Regions from separate parts of the Homo sapiens genome. Here region 2 is linked to region 1. Evidence: promoter capture Hi-C in human tissues and cell types (Jung and others, 2019). All regions are on one chromosome and are shown on one strand. Each heading gives the region's core, a stretch centred on a gene start or on the middle of the fragment in contact. The rest is flanking DNA. Distances are from core to core; before and after follow the strand shown. Region 1 holds the start of TIGD3 (tigger transposable element derived 3). Region 2 holds the start of SART1 (spliceosome associated factor 1, recruiter of U4/U6.U5 tri-snRNP).

The links. Contacts are between HindIII fragments. The study calls those that stand out against the background at their distance.
Region 2: a contact is called between the fragment with the promoter of SART1 here and the fragment with the promoter of TIGD3 in region 1, in 1 of the 25 tissues and cell types used here (spleen).

The regions. Positions count from the first base shown.
Region 1 is chr11:65,353,334-65,359,462 of GRCh38, forward strand. It overlaps TIGD3 (tigger transposable element derived 3), which reads left to right and starts at 1,418. Exons shown (of 2, transcript NM_145719.3): 1 at 1,418-1,624; 2 at 2,460-4,280. The coding sequence starts at 2,476. The coding sequence ends at 3,891. DPF2 (double PHD fingers 2) reads left to right here. Exons shown (of 11, transcript NM_006268.5): 11 at 1-929. RefSeq lists silencers at 1,146-1,205, 1,296-1,615, 1,636-1,695, 1,706-1,875, 1,936-2,125. The HindIII fragment of the contact is 4,951 bases long and covers 1-4,655 here.
Region 2 is chr11:65,959,531-65,965,735 of GRCh38, forward strand. It overlaps SART1 (spliceosome associated factor 1, recruiter of U4/U6.U5 tri-snRNP), which reads left to right and starts at 2,204. Exons shown (of 20, transcript NM_005146.5): 1 at 2,204-2,563; 2 at 4,544-4,601; 3 at 4,985-5,040; 4 at 5,562-5,688; 5 at 5,812-5,917; 6 at 6,172-6,205. The coding sequence starts at 2,251. TSGA10IP (testis specific 10 interacting protein) reads left to right here. Exons shown (of 8, transcript NM_152762.3): 8 at 287-436. The coding sequence ends at 410. RefSeq lists an enhancer at 2,062-2,849. The HindIII fragment of the contact is 22,503 bases long and covers 1-6,205 here.

The DNA.
Region 1 (6,129 bases), core at 168-2,667:
AACAGTTGACCTTGCAATCTCAGACATTTAAAACAGGACCAGAAGTTTATATAAATATAATTAATAAGCAAACTAATGACATCACCATGGGACACACACAAAAGTTCTTGCAGGAGCAGGGTCTGTGTGGCTTCAGTTGCCTGCAGCGCTCCCAGGCCAGAGCAAGTGCTCTAGGATCTGAACTGCCCGCAGTGCAGCCCTGCAGCCTTTCCCAGGGCACGTTGATGTGCACACAGTTTCCCTGAAGGCAAAGTGAACATGTGGAGAGCTTACGTGGCAGCGCGTATGTCTTCAGTGTGTGTTTTAGAAGTCCAACTGTTGTTTTTATGTTTTTAAAGGAAAGATTTGAATCAAGCAGTTATGGGCCCCCTGAAGTATCCTTTTTTCTAGAACATTCTGAAAGTCATCCTTGCCTATGGGAAGCCTAGGCCGGCCTGCACTGTTATGTTCAATAAATAAGCAGGGTGCTCTGGGCTGGGGATTGTGTGAGGAGCAGAGCGCAGCCCGTCCTCATGCTTTTCCACTGAAGTAGGCCAGGCAGAGAGGGAGTACAGCAATGGATGCGCTTTGGCAGCTGAGTAGTCCGAGAGCCAGAAAAGAAATGTGGAAAATAAGAACGCTGTAGCAGGCCTAGGTGAGGAAATTTAGGAAGGGTTTGCGGGAGGTAGGATTTGAGATGGGTCTTGGAGAGTTGGACAGTGTCAGCCGGTAGGACGGGGGTGCGGACGGAAGCCTGTGAGGAAGGCAGAGGATGCGGAGCTGTGAGCGGAGGGAGCAGCGAGGCTGGAGAGCAGCTGGGCTGCGGGTCAAGACGTCTGCGTTTAATTCGGGACTGAAGGTTAGCAGGGAAGGGAACGATGCCAGATCTTGAGTTTAAGAACTTGAATCTTGTAAAGTACCAAATCTAATAAAATACTCGTCCTAAATCATTACTGGCCCAAGCATGCAGTGTTTCCGTGGCCGACAGACTCGAGCCAGCGCTGTCCATGGTAACCAGCTTTTGTGTGGCTTAAAGCTTGCATCCATTTTCTCCTTTCATCGTTTTCCCAAAACAATTCCGTGAGGGCTGTTAGCCCTGCTTGGTAGACGAAGAAGCCGATGCGGTCTAGGGTCACGGCCAGGGAGGCTTTGGGACGCCAAGTCAGCTCGGCGGTCACCACACCACCTACAGGGCTCGTCGGGCCCTCGGGGTCGGCGGCTGCTGGAGGCGCCCAGGGGAGTCCTGCTGGTTCCTGGCTCCGCCTCCCGCCCCTCCGCGCTAGAAGCCCCGCCCCCAGAGGGGCTCGACGAACCGCCACTTCCGCAACGTCCAATGAAACTTAGCCGGGGGAGGGACGGGGCGCCACTGAGGACCAATCTGCTTGGGCCGGGGCGGGGCTGCGGCGGGTGGGTGCAGAGGGGCCGCACCGCGGACTTCGCAGCCGGGAGAGAGCCCGGCGCGGGCGGCGCGCACGGGACTCTGCTGTGCGCGCGCCCGCCCGCCCGCCGTCCGCGCAGGCCCTCGGTCCGCTCTGCCCTCGGGGTCGTGGCGCCCATCCCTCCCCTGTTCTGCTGTCGCCGCCCGGACAGGGGCTCGGGAGCCGGGCTGGGGGCAGGGGCTGGAGCCGCGGGACCAGCGCCTGAGGTGGGTGCGGAGCGGGAGGCCGGGCGGGCGGGCGCCTGGGGCCGCCCCGCCGACATACTCCGGGTCGAGGGGGAGTGACCGGCCAGGGCACGGAGTCCGGCTGCCGGCCTGCCTGGGTCCGGGCGTTCGTTCCCGCGCCCTGGGACCCTCCCAGGCCACCACCCTCCCCGCGGGGACACCCCGCCCCTCCGCTGCCCGCAGCCTCCTCAGGCCTCCCGCCCTTTGTCGCTCGTGCACCTGCGCCCTCGGCCCTGCCCTCTCGCTCCCCTCAGGACTGACCGTCGCCTAGCCTCCCTCTCAGGACCCGGCACCAAATTAGCCTCGCTCCTTCAGACACCCTCTGTCCCCTTTGTCGTCTGTACACCTGTCACCTCAACTCTGTGTGCATCCACCCACCTCCCACCCCCCAGCGGCGTCATCTGAATCCAGCCCAAGCCGCCTCCCACTCCCTCCCGGGGGCTCCTCCCCCGCAGCCCCGTAGCCCCACACCTGCCCCCTCGGCCCCAGTCCCAGGCCCTCCCCCGTCCGTATGCCTTTGTTATCTCTGCAGCTGTCCCCTGCACTTTTCATCCTTCTTCCCGAGTGAGGCCAGACCCCAGCCCAGACTCCCCTGTCCTTCTGAGTGGAGAGACGCCCCCTCCCCAGCTCTGCCCTGGCATCCTGGGGACGGGGCCAGCCGGCTTCCACTCGGCCTAGCCACTTCCTCTTTCAGCGGGTCCAGTCTCACCCGGTGCCTGCGCAAGTCCTCATCTAATCTCTTTTCCCTCCTGCGCTCCTTTCCTAGCTCTTCCGGCCTCAGATTACTCTACCCGCTCAATCTTTCCTCCCCGCACAGGTGCCCCGGAGAGGCCATGGAGCTGAGCAGCAAGAAGAAGCTTCACGCCCTGTCCCTGGCCGAGAAGATCCAGGTGCTGGAACTCCTGGATGAGTCCAAGATGTCCCAGTCGGAGGTGGCCCGGCGCTTCCAGGTTTCCCAGCCCCAGATCTCGCGCATCTGCAAGAATAAGGAGAAGCTGCTGGCGGACTGGTGCAGCGGCACAGCCAACCGAGAGCGCAAGCGCAAGCGGGAGTCCAAGTACAGCGGGATCGACGAGGCTCTGCTCTGCTGGTACCACATTGCCCGGGCCAAGGCCTGGGACGTGACGGGGCCCATGCTGCTCCACAAAGCCAAGGAGCTGGCCGATATCATGGGCCAGGACTTCGTGCCCAGCATCGGCTGGCTGGTCCGCTGGAAACGCCGAAACAACGTCGGCTTTGGGGCCCGCCATGTTCTTGCGCCTTCATTCCCCCCTGAGCCACCTCCCCCGGGGCTCACATCCCAGGCTCAGCTGCCTCTTTCCCTAAAAGACTTCTCTCCAGAGGACGTGTTTGGCTGTGCTGAATTGCCCTTGCTGTATCGGGCAGTGCCCGGCAGCTTTGGTGCATGTGATCAAGTACAGGTGCTGCTGTGTGCCAACAGCAGGGGCACCGAGAAGCGGCGGGTACTGCTGGGTGGGCTCCAGGCTGCCCCGAGATGCTTCTTTGGGATCCGCAGTGAGGCTCTGCCTGCCTCCTACCACCCGGACCTGGGCATCCCCTGGTTAGAGTGGTTGGCACAGTTTGACCGGGACATGGGACAGCAGGGCCGACAGGTGGCTTTGCTGCTGGCTGCCCGAGTGGTGGAGGAGCTGGCAGGCCTGCCTGGGCTCTACCACGTGAAGCTCTTGCCTCTGGCCGCCTCTAGCACCACGCCTCCCCTGCCCAGCTCAGTGGTCCGGGCCTTTAAGGCCCATTACCGACACCGGCTGTTGGGCAAACTGGCTGCCATCCAAAGCGAGAGGGATGGCACCTCGCTGGCCGAGGCCGGGGCAGGCATCACCGTGCTGGACGCCCTGCACGTGGCGTCTGCCGCCTGGGCCAAGGTGCCTCCTCAGCTCATTTTCAGCAGCTTCATTCAAGAAGGGCTGGCTCCCGGCAAAACGCCCCCGTCCTCGCACAAAACCTCTGAGATGCCACCAGTCCCCGGCGGGCTGAGCCTGGAGGAGTTTTCCCGCTTTGTGGACCTGGAGGGTGAGGAGCCAAGGTCTGGAGTATGTAAGGAGGAGATAGGCACTGAAGACGAGAAGGGGGACAGAGAGGGTGCCTTTGAGCCCCTGCCCACCAAAGCTGATGCCCTCCGGGCCCTGGGCACCTTGAGGAGGTGGTTTGAATGCAACAGCACTTCTCCTGAGCTATTCGAAAAATTCTACGACTGTGAGGAGGAGGTGGAGCGGCTTTGCTGCCTATGAAGGCGCCTTCACTGCTTGCCAGAGCCCCTTCCTCTCTTGTTTCCCATGGAAACGGCCTCTTCAGAAGGCAGATCGGGCTGTCTCTTTCCTGTGGAAATAGAACTGTCGTAAAGGTGTAGAAGGGAGAGAAGTTGGGACACCAAGTCTGAGCTTGGAGTGGCAGTCGTCCAAACCCCAGGAAGAGAGCTCTAAAGATGGGGCTTCGGGGGTAGGAATCCAGGATGCTTAGTTTCTAGACCCTGCTTGAAAGTTCTAGAGCCTTTGAAAGGGAGTTAGTCTAGAGGCAGCCACTTAGAAAGGTGGAATTTGGGCTTTTTGGACAGACTGCTTCCTTGAACTTTGTGTTAAAAACAGTTCTGCTTCTGAAAATAAAGTTTTTAATCAGAAAAGAGGCCAGGGTGTTATTTTCATGGGAGAAGGGTAAACATTTTCCATTCAGATTTGGAAAATTAATTGCTGATGGTCACTGCGGTGCAGCTGTCTGTCCATGACCAGTAGGGATCCTCCTTTTCCAGATATTCAGCAGCAAGGACTCTCAGGGTGTGGGCACTGCTTGTGGGCTACCCTCCTGAGAGGGAAGCTCCAGGACAGACAGATCCCAGCTACTGCCCCAGATAAGCTGCAGCTCCAATAGTTTCGCTCTCAGATTGTGTGTGTTTGGGGTTGGGCAGGCTACGGACATGTCAGGGAAACAGAAAGGAGCCGGAATTGGAATGGAATAGTCATTCATTCTTTCTTTTTTTTTTTTCATTTGCTTATTTCACAACATCACTTCAGCAAGACCTCCTATGTGAACAAGGTTGCAAAGATGATGTCTCTTCTGGACAGAACCTTGCAGCCAATGACAGTGGAGTGTGATTAAGGCTGTGATAACGGCTGTGCAAAGTGCCTGGCCCCATAGAGCTAGGGAGACTCCAGGGGGAGGTGAGCTTTGAGCTGCAGTTTGAAGGGCGTCCCAGGCCAAGGGACAGCGTGTGCAGAGTCTGATTGGAGTGAAGGAGCACAGTGTGCTGGGGGCGGGGGCAGGCAGTTCTGCCAGAGCATAGCATACTTGCGGAGGTAGGGGCAGAGTACAAGGAGAGACCTGGAGAGTAGGAAGGGCCTTTAGCCAACCAGGCTTAGGGGTAGGACACCATCAGAGGGTTTTAGGTAGGCAGGAACAAGTCATTCTTGGGGTTCTAGAATAACGGAGTCTGTGTAGGGTGTGTCAAAGATGTGAAACCTAGAGGCAGAGAGCCTCTGACTGATCCAGGTGAGAGAAGGTGAAGCGTGAGCCAGATCCTGGGAGTAGGATGTAAAGAAAATGGTTTACCAGCAGGGCGCGGTGGCTCACGCCTGTAATCCCAGCACTTTGGGAGGCCGAGGTGGGTGGATGACCTGAGGTCAAGAGTTTATAAGACCTGCCTGGCCAACATGGTGAAACCCCATTTCTACTAAAAATATAAAAACTAGCCGGGCGTGGTGGCACATGCCTGTAATTCCAGCTTCTCAGGAGGCTGAGGCAGGAGAATCGCTTGAACCCGGGAGGTGGAGGTTGCAGTGAGCCAGGATGGTGCCACTGCACTCCAGCTTGGGCAACAAGAGTGAAACTCACTCAAAAAAAAAAAAAAAAGAAAAGAAAAGAAAATGGTTTTACCTGGAAAGGATATGGGCTTTGGACGCAGATAGACTCTAGCTGGTAAAAATACAAGCTGCAGGCCGGGCACAGTGGCTCATGCCTGTAATCCCAGCACTTTGGGAGGCCGAGGCTGGTGGATCACTTTAGGTCAGGAGTTCAAGAGCAGCCTGGCCAACATGATGAAACTCTGTCTCTACTAAAAATACAAAAATTAACCAGGCGTGGTGGCACACACCTGTAATCCCAGCTACTTGGAAGACTGAGGCAGTAGAATCGCTTGAACCCACGAGGCGGAGGTTGCAGTGAGCGGAGATCGCACCACTGCACTCCAGCCTGGGTGACAGAATGAGACTCCGTCTCAAAAATAAAAAAATAAAATAAAAATACTGTCTGGGCACGGTGGCTCACGCCTGTAATCCCAGCATTTTGAGAGGCCGAGGCGGGTGGATCACCTGAGGTCAGGAGTTCAAGACCAGCCTGGCCAACATAGTGAAACCCCGTCTCTATCAAAAATACAAAAACTAGCCAGGTGTGGTGGCGAGCGCCTGTAGTCCCAGCTACTCAGGAGGCTAAGGCAGGAGAATCGCTTGAACTGGGAGGTGGAGGTTGCACTGAGCCAA
Region 2 (6,205 bases), core at 954-3,453, 610 kb after region 1:
AACCAGTCTGGGACTCTGCAACCATCTGAGCGGCCACACACCAAGTCCCTCATTAGGGGCTGGCACCACCACGCTGGTCACCCCATGCCTTAGAATAACCTGGTACAGAGCAGCGATTATGAAGCCCACTTGACAATAAGGAAAGTGAGACTCGAGAAGAGTCACTTTGCCCAGGATCACACAGCAAGCCGGCACTGAAGCAGGGTTTGAAGCCACATTGTCAGTGGTTTCCTTGGGCATGGGGGTGGGAGCTGCAGAGTCAGGGGCCTCTATCTGTGTCTTGAAGGAGCCACAGGTCAATGGGGGTGAGAATGGAGCACTCTCCTCAGAGGCCCCCAAGGACAGAACCCACCGGCAGCCAGCCTGACAGGCACTACAACCCCAGCCTGGACCCGGAGTGCAGTCCCTGAGATAAAATTAAAGGCTTTATGGCAAACACAGTATGAGATTTCTGGTGGTGGGGGTGGTGGAAGCTACGGGTTGGAAGTTGGAGGTGGCAGGTGGGTGGGCAGCAGGCTTAGCTCTGTCCCCGCACCCCCTCCCCACCAGGAGCTTTGGCTCTTTTGGTTCCCCCCACCCAGTACACACAGCCCCTTCTCTGCTCCTGAGGAGTGGGGACATCTCAAAGAGCAAGAGCTGTGACTTCTCCACCCCATCTCCAATGTATATGTTGGGTCCTATAAATTCAAGCATGAATAAGATGAAATGACTCCTGCCTCTGAGGACGCCCAGTGAGTGGGAGAGGGGGTGGATCCTTAAAGGGGCGCATACAACATAGCCTAACACATGCTGAGTTGTGCCACACAGGGAGCCACAGACTGAGCAACCACTGGGTGAGGGGAGGGGTTTCAGGAGAGATTGGGATTGTGTGCACTGCGCTTTTTTTTTTTTTTTTTAAGACAGAGTCTCGCTCTGTCACCAGGCCGGAGTGCAATGGTGTGATCTCAACTCACTGCAACCTCTGCCTCCCAGGTTCAAGCGATTCTCCTGCCTCAGCCTCCTGAGTAGCTGGGACTACAGGTGTGCGCCACCACACCCAGCTAATTTTTGTATTTTTAGTAGAGACGGGGTTTTACCATGTAGGCCAGGATGGTCTCGATCTCTTGACCTCGTGATTCGCCTGCCTTGGCCTCCCAAAGTGCTGGGATTACAGGCGTGAGCCACCGCGCCCGGCCTGCACTGGGGTTTTAAGTCCCAATAGTTTTAAGTTAGGGCTGGTCTCCTCAAGAAAAAAACTCATACACACAGATGTGCCACATTTTGCATTCAATTTCAGGGGTTCCAGGGATACACTGACGCCCATGTGGAGCTCCTAAACAATCTTAACAGTTCACGGGGCCAGGTTTTAAAAATCCAATCCAGGGCCAGGCGCAGTGGCGCATGCCTGTAATCTCAGCACTTTGGGAGGCCAAGGCGGGTGTATAGCCTGAGCTCAGGAGTTCGAGACCAGCCTGGCCAACATAGTGACCCCACCCCCTACCCCCGCTCCCCACCAACCATCTACAAAAAAATACAAAAATTAAAGGGGCGTGGTAGCGTACTCTCGTAGTCCCAGCTACTGGGAAGGCTGAGGTGGGAGGATCACTTGAGCCCAGGAGGTCGAGGCTGCAGTGCGCTGTGATCACGCCACTGCACTCCAGCCTGAGCAACAGAGTGAGATCCTATCTCAAGGGAAAAAACAAAACAAAACAAAACAGGGAACGTGGGAAGGAAGCGTTCCCTGACGATACTGGTTATAGCGGGTCTGAAGCTGGGCTGTGGAATTGGAGATCTCGGGAAAACAACACCCGTTGGAGCCACGACCCTAGGAGTCCACTAAGCGAGCGCCCATTGTAGGAGGGAGGTGTCTACGGAAAGACCGTGAGGTAGTGAACACCCCGTTGCCGGTGAAGTGCAAGCGCAGGGAGGCCGGGGAGGAACTTAAAGCCACGAAGACACTGACTTAATGGGCTCTAAGTCCTTCCAGTTCTGGGATCCCACCTCCGGGTTAATTCCGCTTCCCTTGAGGAGCGCATGCGCAATGGGACCACTCGCTCAAAGAACCCACCCGACCCGAGACGGCGCGAATGTGCAGTCGAGCGCTGATCCCGGCCTTCCCATGAGCCTCTGGGGCAGGCTCCAAGGCGAGCGACGGAAGCAGCCGCTCTTAGTTTCCGGCAACACGACAGCGGCTGCCGAGCGACCCGGAAGTATTCCCATTTTGCGTTGTCTGGGCTCGGCGGCAGCCGGGCTCGGAGTGGACGTGCCACTATGGGGTCGTCCAAGAAGCATCGCGGAGAGAAGGAGGCGGCCGGGACGACGGCGGCGGCCGGCACCGGGGGTGCCACCGAGCAGCCGCCGCGGCACCGGGAACACAAAAAACACAAGCACCGGAGTGGCGGCAGTGGCGGTAGCGGTGGCGAACGACGGAAGCGGAGCCGGGAACGTGGGGGCGAGCGCGGGAGCGGGCGGCGCGGGGCCGAAGCTGAGGCCCGGAGCAGCACGCACGGGCGGGAGCGCAGCCAGGCAGAGCCCTCCGAGCGGCGCGTGAAGCGGGAGAAGCGCGATGACGGCTACGAGGCCGGTGAGGAGGCGGGGCCTGCGCAGGGGGCGGGTCGGGCGGGGGTCCCGGAACGCGTGGGTCTGGGTGTGCGCGCAGTGTCAGCGAAGCTCTTCAGGCCAGGAAACCCCCAAGCTGTTTACCAGCTCTATTAAATAGTCTTTCTACGGGATCCCTTGAGCCCAGGAGTTAGAGGCTGCAGTGAGCTGCGGTCCCGCCAGTGTACTCCAGCCTGGGCAACAAAGCGAGACTCTGTCTCAAAAAGAAAAAAGTCTTTCTACGGTTGTTTAGGATTAGAGGTTGACTTTCTCCACTCAGCTGCTTGAGGACAGAGGGCTTCTGTTTTCCTCAGTTGTCTGGTACAATCAGATTCTCAATAAATATGTTGAATGAGTGAATGAAGTAGTGTCAGCATATACAGAGGCAAGAAAAACCTGGTATTGGACGAATCGTGTAGGGCGCATGGTAGAGAAATGAGGGAGTAAGATAGACAGGGATGTGAACACAAAGGACCCTGTACTGTAGTCTCTGTTAAGAACTGTAGATTGTCTTGAGGATAGTAGGGAGCCATGGATGTGAGTTGAGGAGTGAGTTGCTCAGATCCGTATTTTGTAAACATCACTGGATTGAGAATTTAGTCAAAGGTAGTCAGGACTGGAGACCAGGAAACCAGGAGGGCTATAGGCCAGGGGAGGGCTGATGGTGGCCTGCACCAAGGCAGCAGCAGTGGGATTGAGAGAAGTGGACAGGTTGGAGAGGTGTTTTGGAGGAGGAATGAACAGAACTCAGCACTTGTATGAGGGTGGGAAGAAGGAATGGAGGATGACTCCTTGAATTTTGGCTTGAGCAGCCAGATAGGTAGTGGGTGTCATTTCTACTGAAATTGAGGAGTAGGGAAGAGAAGCAGATTTGGAGCGGGGGTGGGGGGAGATAGTTCACTTTTGGGGTTGTCAAGGTTGATGGTAATGGGGAAATCCAGAGTTTGGACTGGATAAAGCCATTGGGAGTCAGTATCTGGGTGGCCAGTGAAGCCCCTGAAAGACTGTGACATGAGAAGAGGGGGTCAGGACTAGAACCTGAGAAATGCCCTTATGTTAGTAGTAGGCAGAGAAAGATGTTACCAAAAAAAGGAGACAGAGTAACCAAAAAGGCAGGAAAACCTTTGTGTCATGGGAACTTTGGGAAGAGAGTATTGTTAGAAGGAGGGAGCGATCAGCAGTCCCACATACCACAGGAGATCAAGCAAAACCAGAACCGAAAAGAACCCACTAGATTTAGAAACGAGGAGGCTGGTGACCTTGGGGAGCCTGGAGAGGTTGGGATCCATGGCCCAGGTGGAGAGAGAAGCCTTTAAGATAAAGGAGAAGGTAGGATGCAGGATGGGAATGCAGGAAAGGAAGAGTTTTTTTTTTGTTTTGTTTTGTTTTTTTGAGACAAAGTCTTGCTCCATTGCCCAGGCTAGAGTGCAGTGGCACGATCTCAGCTCACTGCAAGCTCTGCCTCCTGGGTTCAAGCAATTCTCCTACCTCAGCCTCCCGAGTATCTGGGATTACAGGTGCGCACCACCGTGCCTGGCTAATTTTTATATTTTTAGTAGAGACGGGGTTTCACCATCTTGGCCAGGCTGGTCTTGAACTTCTGACCTCGTGATCCATCTGCCTCGGCCTCCCAAAGTGCTGGGATTACAGGCATGACCCACCATACCCGGCCCAGACCTTGTCTGTTAAAAATGAAAGAAAAAAGTAGAGGGCAGAGTGGTGACTACAGCAGTTTGGATGTCTTGGGTCAGGAAAGGAAGGTGCACAGAAGAGGCAGGGCTCTGAGACTGGACTCGGGCAGAGGAGCTGCTGGGGAGCTTGGGTGGAAGAAGCTGCTGTTTTCTGGTGTTTCAGCAGGCCCAGGTGCTGGTGAGGGGCCCTCATTTTTGTTCCTGCAGCTGGAGCCAACGATGCTGGCTTCTTGGCCCTGTGTTCAGCTCCTGAGCCATGCTTCTTCTTGTTCCAGCTGCCAGCTCCAAAACTAGCTCAGGCGATGCCTCCTCACTCAGCATCGAGGAGACTAAGTGAGTACTGTCTCCCTTGTTTCTACTTTGTTTTTCTAAGAGAGGTGGCTCTGGGGCCAGCACGGGGGAGGCTTTCTCACATGAAAGTGTGCTAATCAGAGTTGGAAAGATTGTTTAAATCATCTTAGCCAACAGTTGACTTATAGAAGAGAAAACTAAAACCTAAGAGTAAAGTGGCATTCACTGGTTAGACGCAGACCAGGCTGGTGCCCATGTTTCCTGCTTTGGAGGCCAGGGCCCTTCCCAGTGTCCTAGGCTGCCTGGGGCAGACTTTGTGTTTGGGACCACTCACTCCCACCCTGTTTCTCCTCTTGTCTGTCTGGAAATGCACATGGCACCCTGTGTCTTTAATAGCCCCTAACACTTGTATCTCTTGTTGTCAGCAAACTCCGGGCAAAGTTGGGGCTGAAACCCTTGGAGGTTAATGCCATCAAGAAGGGTGAGTATGGGGCTGAGGATAGGGTTTGGGGGAAAGAGGCCATCTGAAGGGGTCTTTGAAGAAGGTGGGGTTAGAGGGCAGGTTCAGCACTGTTTAGTGGTCTTACACATGCATATTTGCCGGAAGGCATGAGGTCCCTCCTTGCTGGTATAATGGGGATCTGGGGCTCCGCCTGCTCTCTGAGTTGGAGCTGTGGCCGTCGCATACTCACTCTGGCTGTGAGTTGTTAGATGGACTGGAAGATGTGCACACTTGCTGCAGACTGCGCTGTGCGGGGGTGGGTTTCTTGTTTTTCTTTAAAGCACGATTTGAGGGGCTTTGGAAGCCACAGAGGGTCCTGTTGTGCTGCATGGGTTGGCCAGGAGTGTGGGGACGAAGTGGGAGCAGGGAGGTGAAGGATTGTTCCTTCCTGTCCTGACCCCTTCTGGCCCCCTGAGCTGGAAGGGGGCAGGGTGAGTGGCTCCCTCCTCTCCCCACCAGCCATGGGCGGGCATAGCCTCACGTCTGGGCCCCCCTTCCAGAGGCGGGCACCAAGGAGGAGCCCGTGACAGCTGATGTCATCAACCCTATGGCCTTGCGACAGCGAGAGGAGCTGCGGGAGAAGCTGGCGGCTGCCAAGGAGAAGCGCCTGCTGAACCAAAAGCTGGGGTGAGGGGTCCTGGCCAGGGCAGGCAAGGGAAGGGCTGGGGAGGCCACCATCCTTGGCTGCCTCTTGAGTGGGGTGGGGAGCAGGAGCTGGGCTCCTTGAGCATCACTTTTTCCCCTCTTCAGGAAGATAAAGACCCTAGGAGAGGATGACCCCTGGCTGGACGACACTGCAGCCTGGATCGAGAGGAGCCGGCAGCTGCAGAAGGAGAAGGACCTGGCAGAGAAGAGGGTGAGCACCTGGGCAGCATGGGGTGGTCGCCTAGTGCTTCTGGTGGCCTGACGGCACTGAGGCGGGGGCCAACCCCAGAGAGGTGAGACGGGGCTTGGAGAAGGGAAGGGCCGTGGTCGGTAGCATCTACTTTGGATTCTCAGCAGCTTTCCTGCAAGGCCTGCCCTTTTTGCACTCCGCTTGGTAGAGCCCTGAGTGTTTTCTGGTGATGCTGAGTGGCCTGAAGTCCTAGGTCACCCCTCCCTGTCCCGTAGGCCAAGTTACTGGAGGAGATGGACCAAGAGTTTG